2 separate regions of the Homo sapiens genome follow, and region 2 is linked to region 1. Evidence: promoter capture Hi-C in human tissues and cell types (Jung and others, 2019). All regions are on one chromosome and are shown on one strand. The core of a region is centred on a gene start or on the middle of the fragment in contact, and the rest is flanking DNA. Distances in the headings are between cores, read along the strand shown. Region 1 holds the start of RGS7BP (regulator of G protein signaling 7 binding protein). Region 2 overlaps RNF180 (ring finger protein 180).

The links. Contacts are between HindIII fragments. The study calls those that stand out against the background at their distance.
Region 2: a fragment that was not itself captured here is called in contact with the fragment with the promoter of RGS7BP in region 1 in 3 of the 25 tissues and cell types used here (H1 embryonic stem cells, dorsolateral prefrontal cortex and spleen).

The regions. Positions count from the first base shown.
Region 1 is chr5:64,504,628-64,511,360 of GRCh38, reverse strand. RGS7BP (regulator of G protein signaling 7 binding protein) reads right to left here and starts at 5,346. Exons shown (of 6, transcript NM_001029875.3): 1 at 4,572-5,346; 2 at 3,484-3,650. The coding sequence starts at 4,736. The HindIII fragment of the contact is 10,674 bases long and covers 1-6,733 here.
Region 2 is chr5:64,239,782-64,246,585 of GRCh38, reverse strand. The region is part of intron 5 of RNF180 (ring finger protein 180); the gene reads right to left. Among named protein-coding and RNA genes, the nearest start is that of RNF180, 77 kb to the right of the region's middle. The HindIII fragment of the contact is 4,276 bases long and covers 641-4,916 here.

The DNA of each region.
Region 1 (6,733 bases), core at 4,097-6,596:
GGATACTTTGTATTCACCTGGCTGGGTCTGTCCAGAATGCAGATATCTGATGCCTTTGAAAGAAAAGGCTGTGCCTGAACTCTGCTGATCCAAACACAATTTGAGAAAGCGTGTTGATTGTATTTGTGGAGATGGCCTTCTTAAACAGGGCCAGTTAGAAAAAACATAGTCTGAGTTTTCTTCTCCCGTGAGCTCCACCATTCCTTGAGGGTTTCAGTTGGTCAGGGATGAAAGGTATGTAGCATTAGTGGCTTGTTTAATGCTAACTCCTTGTTTTTCCTCTTCCTCTCTATCTTGCCTCATCTTCTTTTTACCCTGTCCACCTTCAATCCTGTCTACCTCCTGTGGCCCCAAAGCCAGCTGGTAGACCAGGAAGTGGGAGTCTGTATTGGTAGAAAATGAATAAATTCACTTACTCCTTCAAGTCCTGCCTTTCCCACACTTGTATTCCTACACAGAGCAAAGAATTGGTGCTTAAGCAATAGCCATGAGGCAGGTGTCTTGAGGAATGCATGGGGAGCCAAGTATTACTTTTCCTCCACCCTATAGCTCATACCCCTTCATTAAAAGCTACATATGTAGAAAATAATAAAGTTGACAAAAAACCAAGTGTTAATCACGGTGATGATGACAATACCTTTCTAAAAAACAATTATTGAGGTATACTTTATATGCCATAAAATTAGCTCATTATTAGTTACAATTCAATGACTTTTAGTAAATATACAGTATTGTATAACCATCACCATAGTCCAATTCTGGAACATTTCCATCATCCCAAAAAGATTTCTCGAGCTCATCTGTAGTCTCTACCTGCTCTCGCCTCCAGTCCTAGGTAACCACTAATCTACTTTCTGTCTCTATAGATTTGCTTTTCCTGGGCATTTCACATGAATGGAATCATATGACATGTGATGTTTTGTGGCTGGCTTCTTTCAGTTGGCATACTCTTTTTAAGGTTAGTTTATATTTTATCATGTATCCTTTATACGTAACACCTTTTTGAATGGCAGCATTATATAGAGGAAAAAGCATGAAAATCAGAAGCATGCAAACATGGGGCTGAATCAAAGCTGTGTCACTTCTTAGCTGTGTGACTTTGGGCAAGTTCCTCAATCTCTCTAGACCTATTTGTAGAATAAGAATAATAATCCCTCCCTCAGCTGAAAGGAAATAGCTGGGTTGTGATGACAAATAGTGGGCGCGCAAGAAATCCAGTTCTTCTCTCTAAATTTCGCCAAAAACCTTTGCTTTTCTCACTCCTGCTTCAAACTTTAAAGTGACTCCTACAGCCTCCCTACCAGCCTTCACATCAAGCTTGAAACAAGAACCCACATAACAAATGATATCAGAAACGGAATTCCGCCAAAGGGAATCACATCCTTCATTAACGGAGCCCAGATGGTGAGGAACTAAAGGGATTTCCTTCAATTATATTGCTGTCATTTTTTATAACGAATGTTAAATTGCATTTAATTATTATTGTAAGGGGGGAAATGTGTCAAGTTCTATCCTAGAATATTTTATGGAGTTGGTTTTCCTTTGGCAAGGCTCTAAGAACATCTTATTTTCCCACTAATTCTTATAAAACTGCCCCCATTAACATCAACACACAGATAACATGCAAACAAGTAGCAAAGAGCTAAAAACACCAGAGTAAATAAAATCCACCTCAAGCCAGGTACCATGGTGCATTCTTGTAGTCCCAGCTACTCTGGAGCCTGAGGCGGGAGGATTACTTGAGTGCAGAAGTTTAAGACCAGCCGGGGTAACATAGCTATAATACCTCTCAAAGAAAAAAAAAATCCACCTGAAATCCTCCAAACTCAACTTTTAGTCAATAGTTTCAGACCTTTTCTTTCCTGAACCTTCAGAAGACCCTGAATTTTGTGTGTGTCGCAAAATAGACTGAATCGAACTCCTTGTTCATTCCTCCAGCCCACCATCTCTGATTAGAACATGTTCTCATTTTGAGTTCCAACTCAGAGGGATCCTAAATGCAATCCCATCCTATAATCTAGGACACAAAGTTTACAGAGTTGCTACTCCTTAGCCTTGAGAGAAAATTTCCTGTCCTAAATCTGCTTTTCCTTTTGAATTACTGTTTATCTGTACTTCTAAATTTACCAGTGCTCCTTCACATTTCTGATTTTTTTTTTCTGTCTCTCTCCTTGTCTGAGATTTATCACAGCTGTATTTCTTCACCAAACTCCTGAACCACTTAATTCCCCTCCATTTCCCGGATTTACTTCTTGTTAAGAATAGTATAAGAGTTAAAACAGAAAAGGATAAGGCTTCTCAATATTTTTACTAAATAAAATATGGTTATAACATATTTTGTTTATCCCTCTCTTCAAGGAGATGAGTACAGCATATCATTTTTCATGATATAAAATGCCTGTGGTCAAATGTAAAGTAATTATTAACAGAGGCAGTATATGGCTTTCCAATCTTTATAAACTTTATAATCACTATACATATTATTGGAATTAAAGATGGCAAACAGTGATTCTTTCAAATAGGTAAATTAGATATACTTCCTACAAGTGATCAGCTTGTAACATTATCAGGTGAGTCTAATTTGAACTTCTGCTGCGATAAAGCTATACTCACATAGATAAACAGGTAAATACTATATCCAGACTGAACAAAGCACTTAAATTAATGTATTGATGTATTTGTATAAGGATTCCTGTGTTTCCTTGCTCTAAGTACTTATCTTGAAAATAGGAACTGTTAACAAAATCCATGGCTAACTTTTTCCCCAATATTAAGAGATGAAAGAAAGTGTAGGTAGGGTCCCAAGAGAGAAGTTTTCACATACTGAATTATCTCCTAATACAGGCTAGAAAAACGATAAATCTGATGAAAATAAATAAAAATTTGGGGGACAAAATCATGTTAGGTTTATTGAGATATGTGAATTTCCCCAATCTTTAAAAACTGTTCTTATGCTAAAACTTACCCCTTCCTATCACCACAGTGAAGAGAGTAATTTATATCTAAGACCTTATTTTAGGGATTTTATTTTAGGCGGTATCATAGGAATTTATCTCATGGTATAAATAGTTTAGTAAATCTGGGATTTGGGAAAGAGTTTTTCTCTACAGCACAGGCCTTTTGTTCAGCAGCAGATGACAAAATAATTTTGAGGCAAGATGATTTAACTTCAGTTTGATGTCCAGCCATCCACCCCAAATCTTATGCTCCAAATTCCAGAATGTGGCCAGAGTATTGAAAATTAAGTTTTTAAAAAATCATTTGATCCAAATCTTCTAAATATATATACATATATGCAAGAATGACACAGCCTTCAAATTATGGTTTGGCCTATAGTTTGTGTATAGCTCTCTAGAGAATTTCGATCTTAAGGTTAAAATCTCAAATATGTGGAGATCATGTCTGAGGACTTGACTACCATAAAATTCTGTCAGCATCCATGCATCATGTATATGGATTACCAAATAATGCCGAGTCTCCTACCCTGAGATGGCAGCCAATTTTTGGTGTGCCTGACGGGCCATTTCACAGCCTTTGGTTCTTGTCTTGTGCATTTCCGCCCGGAGTGAGGGGCAGCTGACCGAGACATCCCCAATAGAAATGACCAGCTCTCGGTACAGGGCCACTTGTGTGTTGAACTCTTGGACAAGCTGGAAAAGAAGTGAGTTTTTTTTTTTTTACCAAACATTTCTCATCAGAAAGTTTCCTGTTTCGGAGTACATAAACAGGGGCTTTCACTGACCCCTGAGTCAGCTCCCCAGATCTCCAGCTAAGGAACCTAGGAATTGTTTAAAGCAGAAGGCACCAAAATGGCAAGTCTCTTTGTCCAAGGCAAGTATTTATTTCCATAGGCAAGCCTGGCCATGGAAGCTCTATTTCCAGACCTACTTCCCCTCACCCTTTCAGACTCAGTTTCTGAAGAGCAAGAGAGCATATTTGGAGCGCTACCATGCCACTCCCAGGCCAACAGAGAATGATGCTGGGGACTCCTACATAGACGGTCCCCTCTCCTACTGCTAGGACATGGCTTTTAAGTTGCACGGCGGGAGGGGCGGGGGAGGCGACAGGTAGGGTGTAATAGGCAAACCATTCACCTTTTGCTGGGCCACTGAACCTCTCGGCCTGACGGCCTGACGGGAAGACCAGCTACAGCCTCTGCGCTGGAACCTTCGACCCCTCCGCAGCGCCCCGTGCGCTGTATTTGGGTTTGTTTGCTACTCTGTCCCCAGAAAGCAGCATCCCCACCTCCTCATCCCTCCCTCCTCCGTGAGCGAGCCAGTTCACTGTGTCTTTCGCATCCACCATTCTTCGAGGGGGTACAGGCACAACCTACAGCCGCTGATCCCCAAGACCCTTGCTGTCACACTTCTTTCTGCAGGGTTATTACGACCAGGGTGTCACCCTGAATTTGGGGGACTGCAGATTTAAAAATAGTGCATGTGCCACGTGATCGGCATTGAGGAGCTGAGGGTGGGGGAGTGGCTGGCACTCAGGCAAATGATTAACATACATGACTCCCCCCACCCCCTCTCAATTAAAAAAAAAAAAAAAGAGGCGCAGTTTTCACCCACCATCTTGCAGTCGTCCAGGGCTCGTTGGGTTTTGTGGGCGCTCTCGGAGCCGCTGCCCCTGCGCTCCCAATCTCCGCTCTGCAGCGGGGGCTTGCTGATCTGGAAGATCGAGGAGCGGGTGGACCGGCTGGGGCGCTTTTTGCGCCCATTCGGTGCAGAACTCATGCATACACATCCACCAAGCCGAAGCCGCTGGTGCAGTGCGCCCCGGCGCGGGCGGCCCGGTTGTTGCCCTGGGCGCCGCCGCCAAGCAGCCGGAGCCCGGACCTGAGGCGCGCAGCTCACAGTGCTGGGGCTGGCTGCGCGGGTCGGTAACCTTCAGCTTGAAGGAGAGCCGGGGAAGCGCTAGCTGTGCCGTGCAGCATCGCTTCCACTAGCAGCGAGGAAGGAGCGCGATCAAGTTCTGCTCAGCAGCATTGCCGACCCTGTCCCGGGAGCTGGGCGCTGGCGCGGGCTCGCACTGCCTTCCTCTCGGCATGGATTGCAAGGCTGGGCGAGAAGGAACGCGCCGCCCGGCGGTTCCGAGTTTCCATTCAGGTGGGGGAGCAGCTTTCAAAGCCTGCGCTGCAAGGTGGGGGGCGGAAAGGGGTGTCGCTCTTGCTTCAGTGTCTTCCCGCAGCGGCACTCGGTTCGTCTTTCCCCTCCCTCCACTGTCGCCAGGCCTGGAAGGACTGGCCGTCCCCAAAGCAAGCAATTGGCTCTAATCGGCTGCCTTGATCCCTCGTCTCTAAGGGCTTGTCTGTTTGAAGATCCCAGATGAATCTGTGGCGGGACTGGCAGACGCAGAGAATCGGTCCGGCTGACGTTGTTCGCGGGCCCGCACATTGATAGGACGGGAATACTAATGTGATCTGTCCATGCAACCCCCTTCCCCCTCCACAGTTTATGCACTTATCCAATCAAATCCCCGGGAACATCAATTGCAATATTACTTCATCTGCTCTATTATTAGAAACGAAAAGTGTCATCAGAGTGGAGCACATGCCACATGCTGGGACCTAAACATGGATTTCAAATAAGCCAGTGTGGGCTTGAGGCCCTCACCAACTGAGACTGAGACAGGGGCCACAGGAGGGAGTGAGGTTTTGCTCCAAATGGAAGACCTCTTGATAACCTAAAAGGAGAGCTTTGTTTCCCTGAGTTGTTTTGTTTTTATTTTGTCCTTGTTCATGGAGGGGGAAAGAGGAGAGCCAGTGAGGCAGAATGCACAGAGGCATTCACTCAGATTGGGCCTCATCCCCATCCCATTTCAAGTAGTAAAGCTCTTGGTCTTGCATTGCAGGGTCTCAGGACTCAGCTCCTAGAGTTCCCTTCCGGAGACTTGAACAAATAAGAGCCAAGAGATCTCCCTGGACACTCAAAATGACCTTCTTCTCACTTATGGGATATCAGTAACCCAGAGGCCAACAGAGGTGGCCCAGAAAATCGGGGATGATTCTTGTGTGAAAGGAGTGGGGGTGAGGCCCTCAGCCATTTAAGTTCACCCTTCCCACTGACATCTTCCTAAGGTTCTTCTGGGAGGAAGAGAGAGTGTTGTGGCATTCAACTCTAAGGCTCTAAGGATGCTTGTTCTCCTGAATGATTTGTTTGGAGAGGGAGATAAAGGGGTCTCCCATAGGAAAACTAGTTATGTATTAGTAATCCTAATAAGAACAGATTAGAGGTTCCTGGTCAGTCTGTTAAAGGGATATGGAGAGTACATAGAAAGAGAAAGCCTGAAATAGCCAGGAAGGTTAATATCCTAAGGAGGGTGGCTTTACAACCTTTTCTACAAGACAAGTAAATATAATGGGGTACTATAATAAGAGAGTTATTTGGTCTTTGTCCCCAGTCCCTAGGGCAGAACTCCTAAAACCCTTAGAAATTGCCTGAGTTATTATGATAAGCCATCTTGTCACCAGAAAGACCAAGCCTTGATTAGTTGCTTGCAACTTTCAGCCTCATCCCCCAATCTCAGGGGATAGGAGAGGAGCTAGTGACTGCGTTCCTCACCAATGGCCAATTATTTAATCAATCATGCCTACATAAAGAAACCTCTGTAAAACTCCTAAACAACAATAGAGTGTGGGGAGCTTCTGGGTTGTGGAAGACATCTAGGTGCTGGAAGGGTGGTACACCAGGAAAGAGCATGGAAGTTCCATGTCCTTTTCCCATACCTTGCC
Region 2 (6,804 bases), core at 1,529-4,028, 260 kb after region 1:
GTCTATTCAGGGATAGAATATCTTCCTGGTTTAGTCTGAGGAGGGTGTATGTGTCCAGGAATTTATCCATTTCTTCTAGATTTTCTAGTTTATTTGCATAGAGGTGTTTATAGTATTCTCTGATAGTAGTTTGTATTTCTGTGGGATCACTAGTGATATCCCCTTTATCATTTTTTATAGTGTCTATTTTATTTTTCTGTCTTTTCTTCTTTATTAGTCTGGCTAGCAGTCTATTTTGTTAATCTTTTCACAAAACCAACTCCTGGATTCCTTGATTTCTTGAAGGGTTTTTCGTGTCTCTTCTCCTTCAATTCTGCTCTAATCTTAGTTATTACTCGTCTTCTGCTAGCTTTTGAATTTCTTTGCTCGTTTCTCTAGTACTTTTAATTGTGATGTTAGGGTGTCGATTTTAGATCTTTCCCACTTTCTCCTGTGGACATTTAGTGCTATAAATTTCCCTTTAAACACTGCTTTAGCTGCATCCCAGAAATTCCGGTATGTTGACATTGTGTCTTTTTTCTCATTGGTTTCAAAAAACTTTCTTATTTCTGCCTTAATTTTGTTATTTACCCAGTAGTCATTCAGGAACAGGATGTTCAGTTGCCATGTAGTTGTGTGGTTTTGAGTGAGTTTCTTGAGTTCTAATTTGATTGCACTGTCATCTGAGAGACTGTTCGTTATGATTTCCATTATTTTGCATTTGGTGAGGAGTGTTTTACTTCCAATTATGTGGTCGATTTTAGAATAAGTGCTATGTGGTGTTTAGAAGAATGTATATTCTGTTGATCTGGGGTGGAAAGTTCTGTAGATGTCTATTAGATCCACTTGGTCCAGAGCTGGGTTCAAGTCCTGAATATCCTTGTAAATTTTCTGTCTCGTTGATCTGTGTAATATTGATAGTGGGGTGTTAAAGTCTCCCTCTAGTATTGTGTGGGAGTCTAAGTCTCTTTGTAGGTCTCTAAGAACTTGCTTTATGAATCTTGGTGCTCCCATATTGGGTGCATATATATTTAGGATAGTTAGCTCTTCTTGTTGCATTAATCCTTTACAATTATGTAATGCCCTTCTTTGTCTTTTTTGATCTCTGTTGGTTTAAAGTCTGTTTTATCAGAGACTAGGATTGCAACCCCTGCTTTTTTTGCTTTCCATGTGCTTGTTAAATATTCCTCCATTGCTTTGTTTTGAGCTTATGTGTGTCTTTGCATGTGAGATTGGTCTCCTGAATACAGCACACTGATGGGTCTAGACTCTTTATCCAATTTGCCAGTCTGTGTCTTTTAATTAGGGCATTTAGCCCATTTATATTTAAGGTTAATATTGTTATGTGTGAATTTGATCCTGTCGTTATTATGCTAGCTGGTTATTTTGCCTGTTAGTTGATGTGGTTTCTTCACAGTGTCATTAGTTGTTGCAGTTTCTTCATAGTGTTGATGGCCTTTACAATTTGGTATGTTTTTGCAGCGGCTGGTACCAGTTTTTCCATTCGATATTTAGTGCTTCCTTCAGGAGCACTTGTAAGGCAGGCCTGGTGGTGACAAAATCTCTCAGAATTTTCTTGTCTGTAAAGGATTTTATTTCTCCTTTGCTTATGAAGCTTAGTTTGGCTGAATATGAAATTCTGTGTTGAAAATTCTTTTCTTTAAGAATGTTGAATATTTGCCCTCACTCTCTTCTGGCTTGTAGGCTTTCTGCAGAGAAATCCACTGTTAGTCTCATGGGCTTCCCTTTGTGGGTAACCCGACCTTTCTCTCTGGCTGCCCTTAACGTTTTTTCCTTCATTTCAACCTTGGTGAATCTGAGGATTATGTGTCTTGGGGTTGCTCTTCTTGAGGAATATCTTTGTGGTGCTCTCTGTATTTCCTGAATTTGAATGTTGGCCTGTCTTGCTAGGTTGGGGAAGTTCTCCTGGATAATATCTTGAAGAGTGTTTTTCAACTTGGTTCCATTCTCCCCGTCACTTTCAGGTACACCAATCAAATGTAGGTTTGGTCTTTTCACATAGTCCCATTTCTTGGAGTCTTTTGTTTGTTCCTTTTCATTCTTTTTTCTCTAATGTTGTCTTCATACCTTATTTCATTAAGTTGACCTTCAATCTCTGATATCCTTTCTTCGACTTGATTGATTTGGCTATTGATACTTGTGTATGCTTCACAAACTTTTCATGCTGTTTTTTTTCAGCTCCATCAGGTCATTTATGTTCCTCTCCAAACTTGTTATTCTAGTTAGCAATTTCTCTTTTTTTCAAGGTTCTTAGCTTCCTTGCGTTGGGTTAGAATATGCTCCTTTAGCTTGGAAGAGTTTGTTATTACCCACCTTCTGAAGCCTACTTCTGTCAATTCATCAAACTCATTCTCCATCCAGTTTTGTTCCCTTGCTGGTAAGGAGTTGTGATCCTTTGGAGGAGAAGAGGCATTCTGGTTTTTGGAATTTTCAGCCTTTTTGTCCTGTTTTTTCCTCATCTTCGTGGATTTATCTACCTTCGGTTTTGATGTTGGTGACCTTTGGATGGGGTTTCTACGTGAACGTCCTTTTTGTTGATGTTGATGCTGTTCCTGTCTGCTTGTTAGTTTTCCTTCTAACAGTCAGGCCCCTCTGCTGCAGGTCTGCTGGAGTTTGCTGGAGGTCCACTACAGACCCTGTTTGCCTGGGTATCACTGGCAAAGACTGCAGAACAGCAAAGATTGCTGCCTGTTCCTTTCTCTGGAAGCTTTGTCCCAGAGGGGCACCCACCAGATGCTAGCCAGAACTGTCCTGTATGAGGTGTCTGTCCACCCTGCTGGGAGGTGTGTCCCAGTCAGGAGACTCGGGGGTCAGGGACCCACTTGAGGAGGCAGTCTGTCCCTTAGCAGAGCTTGAGCACTGTGATGGGAGATCCGCTGCTCTCTTCAGAGCTGGCAGGCAGGAACGTTTCAGTCTGCTGAAGCTGTGCCCACAGCCACCCCTTCCCCCAGCTGCTCTGTCCTAGGGTGATGGGAGTATAGAAGTATCTATAAGCCCATGACTGGGGCTGCTGCCTTTCTTTCAGAGATGCCCTGTCCAGTGAGAAGGAATCTAGAGAGGCAGTCTGGCTACAGCAGCTTTGCTGAGCTGCAGTGAGCCCCACCCAGTTCAAACTTCCAGGCGTCTTTGTTTACATTATGAGGGGAAAACCGCCTACTCAAGCCTCAGTTATGGCAGACACCCCTCCCCTGACCAAGCTTGAGAGTCCCAGGTCAACTTCAGACTGCTGTGCTGGCAGCAATAATTTTGAGCCAGTGAATCTTAGCTGGCTCCATGGGGGTGGGATCCACTGAGCTAGACCACTTGGCTCCCTGACTTCAGCCCCCTTTCCAGGGGAGTGAACGGTTCTGTCTCACTGGCATTCCAGGTGCCACTGTGGTATGAAAAAAAATCTCCTGCAGGTAGCTCAATGTCTGCTCAAATGGCCACCCAGTTTTGTGCTTGAAACCCAGGGCTCTGTTGGTGTAGGCACCTGAGGGAATCTCCTGGTCAACAGGTTGCAAAGACTGTGGGAAAAGTGTAGTATCTGGGCCAGAGTGCACTGTTCCTCAAGTCACAGTCCCTCACGCTTCCCTTGGCTAGGGGAGGGACTTCCCTGACCCTTTGTGCTTCTCAGGTGAGGTGATGCCCCACCCTGCTTTGGCTCACCCTCTGTGGGCTGCACCCACTCTCTAACCAGTTCCAGTGAGATGAACTGGGTAACTCAGTTGGAAATGCAGAAATCACCCACCTTCTGTGTTCATCTTATTGGGAGCTGCAGACCGGAGCTGTTCCTATTCGGCCATCTTCAATCTGGGATCCCAATAATGTGATTATTATATGTCTTGAGGCAGTCTTACTTGGATTGAATCTGATTCGAGATCTTTGTCTTTCCTTTACCTGTATTATTTACATCTTTTTCCAGGTTGAAAGGTTTCTTTAGATAAGCTTTCTTTCCCTTTATCTTTCTCTTCTCATTCTTGAACTCCTATAACTTGAAGATTTGTTCTTTTGATGATGCCCAAAACTTTTCAGCTCCAAAATATCTGTTTTGATTATAGTATTATTACTTCACCTTATTACATTTCTCGTCCTGGTCACTTACAGTTTCCTTCAGTTTTTTTAATTGTTTCTCTGTATTTTCTGAGGTTCAGTGAGCTTCTTAAAAACAGTGATTTTGAGTTGTCAGGCACTTCATACATGCATTTAATTAGGGTCACTGACACCTTATGTTGTCCATCTGGTTATATTACATTTCTCTGATTGTTCTTGATCTCTGTTCTCATGCACTGATCTCTGCACAGCTGAAGTAGGAGTTACTTATTCCAGTCTTCACAGACTGGCTTTGTCTGGGAAAGCTCTGTGGCAGATGTAGGTGGTGCTGGGGTGCCAGAAGCAGCCACGATCAGTGTAGGGCTGACAGAAGCCCAGAGCCCAATATGGCAGACATGGCAGTAGGGTAGGGCTGAAACCCAGGACAGATGTAAACAGCATAGCACTGGATTGTGTCAGAAGGCTGGGGCCTCTGAGAGCTGCCTGCCACTGAGGGCTTTCTGGAACCTGAGGCCAGTGGAATCAGTCCAGTGCAGGAGGGTGGGAGGACTAGAGACTAAGTCAACCATGTAAGCTTGAGGGTGGTTTTAGAGGATCTGTCAGTGAGTACCAGCCTGGAACATGGGGCTGTGGGGTTCTGCTGAATGCTGTGGTGGGCCTGGTGTTAGCATCCATGGCAAAGTCTTGTGCTCACTTCCCTCTTTTTCCCCCAGGAAAACAGTATCTCTCTCTGTGTTGTGCTGCCTAGGGTTTGCGGAGGAGTAATGTGGGTAATGAAAAACTGTCCTTCCTACCCTCTTCAATGAGTCTTTTTAAAATTAATATTATTATTGTGCTACAACCAAGTACTACAGCTTTTCACCTGGTTTCCTTAGCTCTTATGAAGATATTTTAGTACACAGATAGTTGTTCAAATTGATGTATAAGACTCATCTACTGTGTGCCAAATACTGAGCATACCCTCCTCCCAAAGACTTTTGTATTAGTTAAGAAAGCTGTCAAATGCAATAAATAGAATAAGTTATCATATGCAGCTCAAATAAATTGGGGTTCATTTCCTTATGTACTAAAATGTCTGAACTTGTAGGCTGCAAGACTGGCTTCCACAGGTTTAGGCAATGGGTTCTTGTTTAAGACAGAAAGAAAAGGTGTCTGGATCAGCCACATCTGTCCCTTTTGTACATAAGAGAAAGCTTTCCCAGAAGACCCCAGCAGATGTCTGCTTATTTCTCACTGATCTGAATAATGACACACAGTCAATCCTAGCTACAAGGAGACTGGCAAAATGAGTAAAATATTTAGAATTTGTGTCTTTGTTTTTTGGGAAGGGGTCTTCTACAGTAAAGGCAGGCAAAGAAGGAGGCTGGAAATAGGTGCTAAGTTAGTGAACTAACAATGTCTTCCACTATTGTATTTGTATTATATTTGCATAGTTCCAAATCATGTATCTAATGTTAAAAATACAACTGGGAGAGACCAACATATGAATCTCATTTATATATACTTAATAAAATGTCATTCATTCAATAACATTGAATTATTATTTGTACAGTAGTAAATACAACCCAAAACACCTTTTTCTTGTGAGATTTATAGTCCAGTAGGGTAGAAAAAGATTAAAATATGTATTAGGTGGCAATAAGTACTATGAAGAAAAACCACACTAAGTAGAGAAATTAAGAATGTAGATGTAAGGTAGGTAGGTCACTACTTCAGAAAGGGTAGTCTAATAAGGGTCTTTCTAAGGAAGTGACATTTGAGTAGAGATGTGAATGAGGTAAGGGACTTATGTGGATACCTCAGGGCAGAGCCTTCCAGGCAGAAGAAACAGTAAGTGTTTGGTATGCTAGGAAGATGGTGAGAAGACGATTATAGGTATAGGAGAGTGAATGAGGGGGTAAGTAATCAGTGATGCCACCTGAGAGGGCATATCACAGGATATTGTAAAACCACACTTTTAGGGAATCATCATGGTTAAAAGTGCTGAAGTAACTCTGTCACCCAATTTCCACTGTGAAGCTAAAACCAATGACTGCATATCAGGTACACATGTTAGCATGTTTAACTGCAATAACAAAGTTTAGTAATGATTTTAAGGAATCTGAGGTTCATATTAGGTAAGGCTTTCATAGACTCTATTATAAATATATTATGTCCTCCTCATTTAGGCATATGGCCTGCTAATCCTTGTCATATAGTTGTGTGAAAAATGCTGGATAAAGCAAATTTTATCAGATTTAATTCATAGAGGACCTACTGCAGCCTTTATTATACTGATCTGCATTTTGAGTCTTCAAAAAGAAGATATGGTTAATAGGGCATTTCTATATTTAATATACTATGAGAACATTTTGTTAAGATTTTGAGAAAAGCAAACAATGAAATGCTGTTATATATTATAGTCTATGGATATCTATTATGCTGATGGTTTGTGCAGAAGAAGGACATGGGGAACCCTTCCTATTCAAATCTATTTGGTTCCTCAGTTAATGAGTTCAGAGAGTGAAGAGCAAGAATACATAGGGCAAATGTGTATTTCTGAAAATATGTTCAAACCCATTTGGTTCCTGAGTTTAAATAGTGAGGAATACCTGTATATAGGTGAGCAGTACATTAGACATTTAATTAAAGATTTGGAAAGGTAACATAAAAATACATTTTGTTATATTTAGCAAACAATTGTAATGCCAAGTAGAACTTTTATGACATTTGTCATTTAAGGTACAGATCTGTTCCCCTGAAACAATGAATTTGCAAAGTAACCATTTTCAG